Linked DNA regions of Homo sapiens: all the other regions are linked to region 1. The links are contacts of gene promoters, found by promoter capture Hi-C in blood cells and fetal thymus (Javierre and others, 2016). All regions are on one chromosome and are shown on one strand. The core of a region is centred on a gene start or on the middle of the fragment in contact, and the rest is flanking DNA. Distances in the headings are between cores, read along the strand shown.

Evidence for each region. Contacts are between HindIII fragments. The CHiCAGO score rates a contact against its expected background, and 5 or more counts as called.
Region 2: a fragment that was not itself captured here is called in contact with the fragment with the promoter of EGOT in region 1 in 17 of 17 cell types (activated CD4 T cells, M0 macrophages, M1 macrophages and 14 more); the score reaches 32.7 in activated CD4 T cells.
Region 3: a contact is called between a fragment that was not itself captured here and the fragment with the promoter of EGOT in region 1, in 15 of 17 cell types (activated CD4 T cells, M2 macrophages, M1 macrophages and 12 more). The highest score is 21.0, in activated CD4 T cells.

The regions. Positions count from the first base shown.
Region 1 is chr3:4,750,014-4,754,349 of GRCh38, reverse strand. It overlaps EGOT (eosinophil granule ontogeny transcript), which reads left to right and starts at 2,760. Exons shown (of 2, transcript NR_004428.1): 1 at 2,760-3,404. All of the region lies in intron 44 of ITPR1 (inositol 1,4,5-trisphosphate receptor type 1), which reads right to left. RefSeq lists an enhancer at 1-72. The HindIII fragment of the contact is 1,839 bases long and covers 1,748-3,586 here.
Region 2 is chr3:5,053,395-5,057,379 of GRCh38, reverse strand. No RefSeq gene overlaps it. Among named protein-coding and RNA genes, the nearest start is that of ARL8B, 67 kb to the left of the region's middle. RefSeq lists an enhancer at 1,934-1,993. The HindIII fragment of the contact is 3,568 bases long and covers 133-3,700 here.
Region 3 is chr3:5,099,871-5,103,926 of GRCh38, reverse strand. No RefSeq gene overlaps it. Among named protein-coding and RNA genes, the nearest start is that of ARL8B, 20 kb to the left of the region's middle. The HindIII fragment of the contact is 1,481 bases long and covers 1,216-2,696 here.

The DNA of each region.
Region 1 (4,336 bases), core at 1,511-4,010:
TCATCAAGTCCTCTTCCCGGGAGGAGGGTCCAGTGCTGAGGACCTGGCAGTGACTTGGGTGCTGTTCCTCCATGGGGGTGGCAATCTGCATCGTGGAGAGCGAGGGCTGAAGCAGGAGTTGCAGGGTCAGGGGAGTCGATCTCTGGAAACAACTCCCCAGGTCTTATTTCCATTCTGTGTACCTGAGGGACAATGAATCAACACCAACCAACATTTCCTGTCCTCAATGCTCCGAGGTTCCCAGGGAATTCAACTTGAAATTTATACAGATGCCAAGAATAATCCTTGCCACCCCCCCCCCATTTTCTGTGTTTGTGCAGTCACACGGCTCAGTGAAAGCGATCTCTATCCTGCATCTTTAGCAAGGTAGAAACATACGCATAGGGGTGACTTAGGAACTGGGTGGGTTTGGACAGCTCATTTATTAACTTCCATCCTCAGTTCCCTCATCTGCAATGGAGAAAGAGGAGGAGAACCACTTGAGATTCTATTGCAAGGAGTGCAGGAGAGAAAACAGGTGAGAGCCCGCACAGTACCGGCAGGGTGTCTACACCAGCCACGTTCCCTTCGCTGCTCTCCACACAAACTGTGACAAGGACACTTGGCCATAGAAGCCGAAAAAAATAAATCCACTCAGGCCGGATGGAGGCAAGGACACTGGCTTAGGTGGCAAAGCATCAAGCAAAGCAAGTGCCTCCTTGATGAAGACTGCAGTCACCCCCAGTCAACCCTAGTCCTTCCCAACTCAACTGACTCTCGGGTACAGCCGAGTCTGGTCCCCAGCAGAATGCTCTGGGACTCTTCATGTCTCCCCACCCTGCATCCCCATCTTGCTGTGTGCTGGCCCACCAGGTAACTTCCACACGGCCACAGAGAGCATCCCTGGCAGCTGACAGTAAGATGTACAGATGGCCAAGCGGTTAGAGCAGGGCAGGGTGAAATCACACAGCACTCATCTGGGTAAAGCTGCTTTGTATATTAGGGCTTTGGCGGCGGCAGCGCATATCCAAGCAGGGGACAGGCCCAAGCCAACTTGGTGCCCTTTAGAAGCACCGACTAGGGATCGGCGGGAACCACAGAGATCACCTCATCCAGCCCCGACTTGATGACAAGCCCATCACCCTGGTGGAGCAGATACTTTCCGCAGCTCTGCCCCTGACCGACCACCATGGGGTAGACCGCGTTAGCTTCCTTCACTCAGCTCCTCCAACATCCCAAGCACAAGCCAACCCTCTTCTGAAATACTCTTGCCCTCTGCTACTCTTCACACAGCTCCTTCTCTTCGCATCTGTTGGGTCTCAGCTTGAACGGTATCTCCCCAGAGAAGCCCTCCCTGGCCACGCTTCGTGGCGCCTGTTTGCTTCCCCATCACACTTCTCTGAAGCTCTGATTTAGCTGATGATGAGCTGATTTCCTAGCTCTGTCTCCCACAAGACTGTAAGCTCCTGGAGGGCAGGGGCTATGTTGGTCTCATCCCTGACTGTATTGACGCCAATGTGTATAGCACCTGACACCCAGGGAGTGCTCAGTAAGTAAACATCTGCTATATTAAGCCGGCTGTGGTGACACAAGCCAGTAGTTCTAGCTACTCCGGAGGCTGAGACAGAAAGATCTCTTCAGCCCAGGAGTTCAAGGCCAGCTTGGTCAACACAGTAAGGCCTCTTCTCTCTTTTTAAAAAATTTACTATATTAATGAATGAACAATAATCCTGAAGGAGGTGCAATTCCGAAACACTCAAGCCAAGCTTTGCATCCATGGCAGCTGAAGTATAACTTTATGGCCAGAAGAAGCCTGCATGTGAAAGCTCAAAGTCCTGCTAAGTGGGAATATGCAGCACACCGCAGACCAGCCAAAGGCAGCTGATGTGGTGTTGTCACCTCTACGGGCTTATCCGGTTTTTGCACGTAACTCTGTGATGGGCTCAGCCTGGCTGAGGATCCTTAATCCATCGAGTTAACTGTTAACTACCCCGGCCCCAGTGACACAGCAGCTTGCATGATTAACTACAGCCCGGGAGGGATGATCATTTGTGCACCTTCCGTCTCCAAACCTGGCTCCCTCCCCAGACTTGATAGCTACAAGCTCTGGGCTCAACAGTTTGTGGGTTTGTGTTGCAAGGAGGCTAATAAAAACATATTTCTCAAATACCATATGGTGAGGGCAACTGCAACACATCCTCCTCGAAGAGCAATAAAATATATATATTTTTAAAGTCCTGAATTCCAGGGGAAAAACGAGGCTTGAAGACTTCAGAGGGTTTACAGGACTATCCCCTTCAGTGTCAGAGCCATCTTGATCAAAAGTCTAAAACCCAGGAATAGGAAATTGGTAGAAACTTTGAGAGAGCCTCTGACAGTTTCAAAGAGGAACTCAGAGGACCTCAGGAAATGTGAGCGGGCATAGATTTCTCCGTGAAAAGGAGGGTCAAGGCAGAAGAACCAGAGGCAACTGTGAACATCAAGTCAGTTCTCAGGGAAGCAGGGGATCCAAGTGTGTACATGAGGCGCCTTCACTGTCCCTGCATCAGGAATCTAGCTGTTGGCACCTTATAATGAGAAAACAGTCTCAACCATGAAGTTAACTCTGCTGGAAGATTTCCAAAGGGAAAGTCCCTCCCGTTACTCAGAGGGGAAAAAAAAATTACCTACTTGGTCTGGAATCCGGGGATATTTTATGCAGATGTCTCTAACAGAAGTTAATAAAGGGAAGTCAGCTTGCCTCTGATTATTCAAACAGGCTACTGCTATTAAGGATTGCACAACTTCTGGGCAAGGCAGAGGTGGGTTTGGCTTTTTAAAAATTTTTTCAGCCTGTCCTCATGGAACTACATATTCTTTTCTAAGAACTTTTCATCCTAACCTCCCTACTCACATCTTCTAAGTGTCTCTGCTCTGGTGGGAATGTGATGGACAACACAGAGCCATCTCAGAAGCCTCTGTGGCCACCACCAGGCCGGCCAGGGTGCAGGGGGCCACTCCCTGGGCAGCCATAGGGTTCTCAGCAAGGTGCATTCGTCGTCCCTGCTGAGAATCTGATGGGGCAGCATTTTTTTTTTTAATTAAATGCAAGCTGAGTCATTTCAACCTGCAACCTTCAGGTAACAGGAGTTACCCAAGCTCCAGGAATTATGATTGTGGGGTAAACCCATTCTCTTGTTTTCTTGCGGTTCTATTTTATAACGCACTAGAGGAGACAGAGACGTCATTGCTTCACCCAGGGCAAGAGGACAAAGGAGGATGCATGGAAATACAAACAGCCCTTCTCCTCCAGGCCATACCGACTGTCCAACTAGCAACAGACTTCACCTGGTTTTGGAGCAATCTGAATTTGGAATATGCCAGAGAAAACTTCTATCAGGCAAGATGGAAGACTCCTAGGATAGGTCTCTCTCATGGAGGGATTGGTAATAAAAAAATCATGGGAAAAGAAATAAGGGAGGGTGGAAAAAACACACCTTAGAAAACAACTTCTGATGTCCCGGGGCTACACAATGGGGGAGCTGAGCACTTAGGAAGGAGAGGGAAAATATTCTGTTTCCGGAGACAGCTCCAAGAATCATGAGTAGGTGTGAGAAACAAGGAAGCTTACAGATTTAAAAAAAAAAAGAAAGAAAGAAAGGAAGGGGGCAAAAGGAAGGAGTCAGGGAAGGGGGGAGTGAGATCTTTGAGAGACAGGGGAATTAAAAAACACCATAGCAACAACGCAGTCCACCTACCCTGGCCGCCCACCCACAGCCAGATTCTTTACTGACGCATTTGAGAACAAGCTGGTTCCTACCAGCTCAGGAAGGTGAGCAAACCCAGAGAGCTCATTAAATCCCTTCTCAGCGACTCTTGTCTGCCTGCAGATAGTGAGCAAGGAGGATATAAATAGAAGTTATATAACATCTCTTTGTTGATTCCTGTGCTTACCAAAAAAAAATGCAGCATGACCTTGTTTTTCTTTAGAGTTTGCCTCGGCCTGCTGGTTGAGGACTTTAATCCAGATAGGAATCATCTTGAAGTTTAAACAGCAGGATATAGATTTCCAAGTTAAGGGTGCTCTGCATGGCCATCCAAGTTAGGAACCCACAGGGTCAAGTCCTCCTCCGCGGATTAAAAAAAAAAAAATCCACCAGCTCTAAAACAACAACAGCAGGTATGGAATCTTGTGGCTTCCTCTTAGAACATCTCCTGAGGTAAATTAAGGAGTAAATTTGATACCCAAGAGCAAAGCATCATTAAAATGGCATCTTGGGTTTTCTAAAGGAGGTTCGAGCACCACAGGTATATTCAAAGGTAACTGGTGGTTTCCACATACCCTCCAGGCCTAAGCAGTTGTCTTTTTGTTCCTTAA
Region 2 (3,985 bases), core at 667-3,166, 300 kb before region 1:
CATCTTAAATCCACTTATTTCTCCCCATCTCCACAGCACCTCCGTCATCCAAGCTGCCATCCTCTCCTGCCTGGACACTGGCAATGCCTCTGATTTGGTCTCCATGCTTCCACATGGATTGCCAAGCAAGCTTTGATGGGATCGTCCTGTATTTTCGTGTATAAATTCCAGCACCAAAAAAAATATGGCTTCAAGTTCTTTTTTTGTTTGTTTGTTTGTTTTTTAGACAAAGTCTCGCTCTGTCGCCCAGGCTGGAGTGCAGTGGCGACAGTAGTGCTTGATGTTTGTGTTTATATTGAAAAAAGAGTTAGGATCTAGGTTCAAAAAATAAGTTTTTTACCTGCACAAATGTCTGCAAAAAAGAGTAATTTCATTTCCTTAAAACTCTGGTTTTTAGTCTGGCCACAGTCCCTATTTCTTTTTTTTTCTTTCTTTTTTTTTTTTTTTTTTTTTTTTTTTTGAGACAGAGTCTCACTCTGTTGCCCAGGCTGGAGAGCAGTGGTGCGATCTCAGCTCACTGCAACCTCTGCCTCCTGGGTTCAAGCAATTCTCCTGCCTCAGCTGGGAATATAGGCATGCGCCACCACGCCCAGCTAATTTTTATATTTTTAGTAGAGACGGAGTTTCACCATGTTGGCTAGGCTGGTCTCGAACTCCTGACCTTCAGTGATCCACCCGTCTCTGCCTCCCAAACTGTTGGCATTATAGGCATGAGCCACTGCACCCAGCCAATTTCTTAAGAGAAATGTTTTTGTAGCATTGCCTTTGCTACCCTGAATTGAACCTGATAGATAGTAAAATCTACTGATACACATAATATCTAAAAATAAATATAAAGTCCTGGCTGTCATATGAAGGAGAAATAAATGAAAATAACTTATAGTACAACAACATGTATTTCAGTATGAAAATCTTCAAGCATGACTCTGACCGTACAGGAAGATGGTGAAGTAGTCAGATGTTTGCCATCTACTTTAAATAAGTGCATCTGAATTTCAGAGTAGTGAGACAATATTCAAAAAATACTGCTGACCCTTTTACTTTAAATCTGCTATTTCAAAATAATGGTCAGTTAGGCATACCTAAAGTCTCCATGAATGAAATAGCTGTAAGTGACGACTGGTACAATTGCATGGCACTATCGGCTCAGATTCCAAGGGTGGTGCTGCTGTCAATGACATCATTTTCCAAAATGGCAAACAAGTCATGGTGAAGTCCGAGGGCCTTCCTTCTATTTCCACAGTAGCAGCATTCCTGGGAAGTTTGGTGTTTGTGTTTATATGAAAAAAAAAAGAGTTAGGATCTAGGTTCAGAGAATGAAAAATGTTTTTTACTTGCACAATGTCTGGTAGGACATTACAAATCTTGGGGGATACAAGTCCGTTTTTGCCCCATAAGCCAGTTTCTCACTGGCCCTCAAAGCAAATAGGACATCAGACTTCCCCATCTCCACCGCCACACCCCTACAATCCTGTGACAACCAAAAGTACCCTCACAAGTAAACATCCCCTAAGGATGGTACCACCCTCTTTGAGAAACACTTCCTTGAAGTCATAAGTTGTAGGAGAACTTCAGGTCTTTCAATAGTTCCTTGGGTTACCACAATCCCTACCACATACCCTATCACTCAGCTTGGAATCAAAGGGTTAGCAGCAGGCGAGTGGAGTGGACTGTGAAGACTTGCAGATACCTCCAGGAAAGAAAAAAACAACTGCCCCTTTGAGCTATAGGCTGAGCCTCAGGCACCCGGTGAAACTCCAGCTCCAAAGAGCACACAGTGCTAAGGAAATAGGTTGTAAAAGGAAGAAACTAGGCAAAGAGATGAGTGGGACGGAGAGGCCCTGCAGGACACAACAGGGTATGTAAGAACAGGAAGGTGAGCTGTAGCCACAGAAGAGGAAGGGGTATAGAGCAGGGTTCCACTCCCAAGACAAGGCCCCAGTTATAGAAGAATCACAGTCTCAGGATACTTCCAGAAATTCACAGACAAAGAGATGGGTGGAGGAGACAGTGAGCACTCGTTAAGAACTTAAGTTTTGGGACAAGGCATGGTGGCTCATGCCCTATAGTTCCAGCACTTTGAAAGGCCAAGGTGGGAGGATTGCTTGAGCCCAGGAGTTTGAGACTAGCCTGAGCAACATGGCAAGACCCTGTCTCTATAAAAAATAAAATAAAACATATTTTAAAATTTTATAAAGAACTTGGGCTATGGGATCAGATGGGATCAGAGAGGTTCAAATTCTAGCTCCACCACTGACGAGAAGTGTGACCTTGGTTGGGCCCATTGTACTTTTTTTGAGGCAAAGTCTTTCTCTGTCACCCAGGCTGGATTGCAGTGGTGCAATCTCAGCTCACTGTAGCCTCCACCTTCCAGGTTCACTAGATTCTCCTGCCTCAGCCTCCTGAGTAGCTGGGATTATAGGCGCCCACCACCACGCCTGACTAATTTTTTTTTCTATTTTTAGTAGAGACAGGGTTTCACCATGTTGGCCAGGCTGGTCTCAAACTCCTGACCTCAAGTGATCTGCCCACCTTGGCCTTCCAAAGTGCTGGGATTATGGGCATAAGCCACTGTGCCCAGCCAGGCCCGTTGTTTAACCTCTCTTTGACTCAGCTTCCTCATCTATAAAATGGGCACAAATAACAGCCCATATTGAGTACAGTTGTTGCGAAATTTTAGTGAGATCACAGGGAAAGTGCTTAGCATGGGTGACCTGTAAGCCGCTCAGGGGCAGGGTCCTCTCCAGCTTTGCTCACCTTTGTACCCGTAAGTACTTGACACCAAGTCACACAATCAACTTTAGTTGAATGAACTGATGAAGAAGGGACCTATGGCAAGTAGCCGTTCTCACTACTATGAACGAAAACAAGAGGGGGAGCCTGTTACTGGAGCTGAGGTAGGAAGAGGGGACTTGGTTTTTTTACTGGGACACAAGATCACAGGCAGTGCTAGTTGCAAGAAGAGGAAGTCAGATCACCAGAGTAACTGAACCAAGGCTTCTGAAATCTCTGAGCAAGGAAGCACTGGGATCAGCACGTGGGAGTGCAGCTGAGCCCCTGGGAGAAAGCCACGCAGCCCCAGCAATGGTTAGAAGAGACCAAAGGAGACAGAGTGCTCCCGGGCACCAGAAATCCCTGGGAGGAGGGCTCAGGAGCACTCCCATGGGAGCACTCCATTGACATGAAAACCTGCGGCCCCATGACAGGTAGGGCAGGCCTGCTTCCTCCCCTCTAAGAATTGGACAAATAAGAATTAAAGAGAAGCAGGATGGGTGCCATGGCTCACACCTGTAATCCCAGCACTTTGGGAGGCTGAGGTGGGTGGATTACTTGAGGTCAGGAGTTCGAGACCAGCCTGACCAACTTGATGAAACCCCGTCTCTACTAAAAATACAAAAATCAGCTGGGCGTCGTGGCACACGCCTGTAATTCCAGCTACACGGGCAGAGTTGCTTGAACCAAGGAGGAGGTTGCAGTGAGCTGAGATTGAGCCACTGCACTCCAGCTGGGCAATAGAGTGAGACTCTGTCTCAAAAAAAAAAAAAAAAAAGAATTAAAGAGGAGACACACAAAGTGAGAGGAAATTAGGCCAGCCTTGGCTCCTGGCCACCTCTGCAGCCCCACACCACATCACTCTCCCCTTTGCGTTCAGAGCTTCAGCCACACTGGCCATTTCCTTATTTCTCAAAAATGCTAAGCTTCCCCACCCACGTCCCCACCACACATTCTTTGCCTGGCTAATTTCTGCTCACCCTTCAGGTCTTGGCTCAAATATCATTTCCTCGGAGAAGTTGTCCATGAACCCCCAGACTAGGCGGGGTGGCCTTCACTCACTCTTATACTGCTCTGTTGGAGGTGCCTCCTTCTTGGCATCTCTCACTGTGGTTGTTGGGGTAATAATTTGTTCAGTGTCCATCTCTTCCCCTAGTCTGTACATTCTTGAGGGCAGGCACTATGTCAAATCCATGACCCCATATCCTCAGGG
Region 3 (4,056 bases), core at 707-3,206, 350 kb before region 1:
ACTTACTTATTGCTGCACCCAGATTCCACTGCTCTCTGCGCACTGGTTCTTTCCTTCCTGCTGTCACTTTTTTTTTCTTTTTTTTTTCTCTTTCAGTCATTTATTTGTTTTTATTTACAATTTGTGTTTAATGCAAATCAATTCGATAATATGCAAAGTTACTTTGAATCAAAGCATAAACATACAAACTGGCTGGGTAAGGTGGTTCATGCCCATAATCCCAGCATTTTGGGAGGCTGAGGCAGATGTATCATTGAGGCCAGGAATTCAAGACCAGCCTGGGCAACATGGCAAGACCCCATCTCTAAAAAATAGAAAAAGAAAAACCACGATATACAACCCAAAATAGATGGACGACATTGTGAAAGTGGTCAGAATCAAAATGGTGTCAGCCAGGTGCAGTGGCTCATGCCTGTAATTACAGCACTTTGGGAGGCCAAGGTGGGCAGATCATCTGAGGTCAGGAGTTTGAGACTAGCCTGGCCAACATGGTGAAACCCCATCCCTACTAAAAATACAAAAATTAGCCAGGTTTGGTGGCAGGTGCCTGTAGTCTCAGCTACTCAGGAGGCTGAAGCAGGAGAATCAGCTGAACCAGGGAGGTGGAGGTTGCAGTGAGCCGAGATCGCACCACTTCACTCCAGCCTGGGTGATAGAGCAATGTTAAGAAAACACTGACAAATAGAGCCAGTAAAGACCATGAAGAGAGGGTTCTTATTCTTTTATGCCTGATAATAAAAGAGACTCTACAAAAACTACAATCTCACACAAAGGCCATGTCAACCTGACACAAAAAATACTCCTGCAAGGACATCTGCCCAGTAACTGCCTGTCCAACCTCAGACTGGCATCACCCTTGCTATTGATCTTTGTAGCCAAGGATGGTTCTTTCAAAACAATTATGTAATCCTCTTCATTTCTTTCCTTTAAAAACCTTTTTCTTCCTTTACTTCTCTAAATACACACACAGTTTACTATGGTATGTATATTTCCATCCCAGTGCTCTATTCCCAAATATCTTTTTTCCTTTAGAGAGCCTCTCTCTGTTAGTTAGGTTGACAGCATTCAGGTATGAAGCAAAAGGAGTATTCATTCACATACGCAGTAGCTTCAGATCTGTTTGATCTCGTCTCCATGTAGGTTCTGGAGATGGGAAAAAATGACATTGGTTATCAATACTACTGTGGCCATATTTGTTACTGCAACGTCTAAGCTTCTATGCATGACCCTGCACTCAAGACTTCAGAAATGTCTGTTTTTTAAGAGATTTCTGTGTGTAGAGGCAATTGTAAAATATTTACTGCAGAAACAAGCTCACTTTTAGGCTTGGGACCAGGTTCTTTGTAAAAATATTGCCTGATAACCAAACAATATGTTTTCAGTGTGGCTGTTCTGATCCATTTTTAAAAGATATTTACAGAGTGAATATTAATTTCTTTCTGAATTTAATGCAAGACAGCTTCCAGTTTTCACCTCCCAAATACTTGATTTACAGTTTTGTCTCCTTCACATTTTTCATTTTTGCCCTTTCTTTCTCTTTCCTTTCTTTCTTCATTTCTTTCTTTTTCTTTCTTTCTTAGACAGAGTCTTGCTCTGTCACCCAGGCTGGAGTGCAGTGGCACCATCTCAGCTCACTGCAAACTCCACCTCCCAGGCTCAAGTGATTCTCCTCCCTCAGCCTCCCGAGTAGCTGGGATTGCAGGCACGCGCCACCATGCCCAGCTAATTTTTGTATTTTTAGTAGATACAGGGTTTTGCTGTGTTGGCCAGGCTGGTCTTGAACTCTTAAGTGATCCACCTGCCTCGGCCTCCCAAAGTGCTGAGATTACAGGCGTGACCCACTGTGCCTGGCCTTCATTTTTGTCTCTTTAATGTCAAGATTGGTTATTTTATCTTCAAAACAGATGATTTTTTTTTTTTTAGATTGAGTTTTGTTCTTGTCACCCAGGCTGGAGTGCGATGGTGCTATCTCGGCTCACCAAAACCTCCGCCTCCCAAGTTGAAGTGATTCTCCTGCCTCAGCCTCCCGAATAGTTGGGATTACAGGTGCATGTCACCACGCCTGGCTTTTTTTTTTTTTTTTTTTTTTTTTTTGTATTTTTAGTAGAGATGGGGTTTTGCCATGTTGGCCAGGCTGGTCTCGAACTCCTGACCTCAGGTGACCCACCTGCCTCGGCCTCTGAAGTGCTGGAATTACAGGCATGAGCCACCATGCCTGGCCAAAGCAGATGATTTTTTAAATTATAAAACGTATTCAACATATGCAGAAATACAAAGAAGCATTTTGAAATTATTTGAGGTCAACAAAATTCTACTCTTTGGATGCAGCTTAGCTAAATAAATTGGGTGCTCTTGTTGAATGAAAATAGATGATGGGAAATGCCTACCATTTGACTTTATGAGGATAAGCAAGAGTTACTCATGATGCTTGAAGCTGGGGGTAAATTCTATTAATAATCCATGACTGCCCTGGCACATGTCAATTACTACATAAAAGGTCACATGCAATGTCAAATCCAAAGATTTGGAGAAAAAAAAAGTGTTTAGTTCCCAAGAGAACAGTGATAGCTTAACAACGTAAAACATCTAGGTATAAAAGCATTAAATTAGTACTGTGAAAACAATACATTGAGGACTTACAGTAATACCTGGAAGTTCCTTCTGAGGTACATATAAACAGAATCACGGAAGAAGCTTTTCATTTTACCTGTTTTATGGCCTTATAGATTTCATGAACCAAATGGAAATTGAATCTCTATTCCACATCCCATCCTTTATCTCTAGATAAGACAAAATCAATACCTGCTTTTTTTTTTTTTTTGAGACTCTCATTCTGTCACCCAGGCTGGAGTGGAGTGGCATGAGCTCAGCTCACTGCAACCTCTGCCTCCCAGGTTCAAACAATTCTCCTTCCTCAGCCTCCTGAGTAGCTGGGATTACAGACATTCACCACCACACCCAGCTAATTTTGGTATTTTTAGTAGAGAGGGGATTTCACCGTGTTGGTCAGGCTGGTCTCCAACTCCTGGCCTCAAGTGATCTGCCCACCTCGGCCTCCCAAAGTGCTGGGATTACAGGCATGAGCCACCATGGCTGGCCTCAATTCTTTTTTTCTTTCTTTTTGAGACAGAGTTTCTCTCTTGTTGCCCAGGCTGGAGTGCAATGGAGTGATCCCAGCTCACTGCAACCTCCACCTCCTGACTTCCAGCGATTCTCCTACCTCAGCCTCCTGAGTAGCTGAGATTACAGGTGCATGCCACCACGCCCAGCTAATTTTGTATTTTTTTAGTAAGGATGGGGTTGCACGACGTTGGTCAGGCTGTTCTTGAACTCCTGACCTCAAGTGATCCACCTGCCTCAGCCTCCCAAGGTGCTGGGATTACAGGCATGAGCCACCGCACCCTGCCTCAATTCTTATTTTTAAGGCAGAGTTTTAGTGTCCACATTTGTTAAGCCACATACAAGGAAATCATGTCTCAACTAATTTTGGATGTTGCCTGTCTTCATCTTGTACATGAAACTCCAGCAGATACACTATTGGCATTCATCATCTTGTCAAACCCTTCACACATTCTTCGAGCCAATCAAATTTAGGGTTTTTTGTTGTTGTTGTTACTGTTGTTTTGAGACAGAGTCTCACTCTGTTGCCCAGGCTGGAGTGCAGTGACACCATCTCGACTCACTGCAACCTCCGCCTCCTGGGTTTGAGTGATTCTCCTGCCTCAACCTCCCGAGTAGCTGGAATTACAGGCATGTGCCACCATGCCCGGCTAATTTTTATATTTTAAGTAGAGACAGAGTTTCATCATGTTGGCCAGGCTAGTCTTGAACTCCTGACCTCAGGTGATCTGCCCGCCTCTGCCTCCCAAAGTGTTAGGATTACAGGTGTGAGCCACCACTCCTGGCCTCTCAACAGTTTTTATGTCAATAAAAGAAGGTGTGGGATTAGTAGATTTGACGACGATTTGTTTTTTCCTTGTCACATTGGACTTCTAGATGCCATTTAAAATGGGTTTAGAAGATGGGGACATATAGATGTTTCTTGGCCTGAGTCTC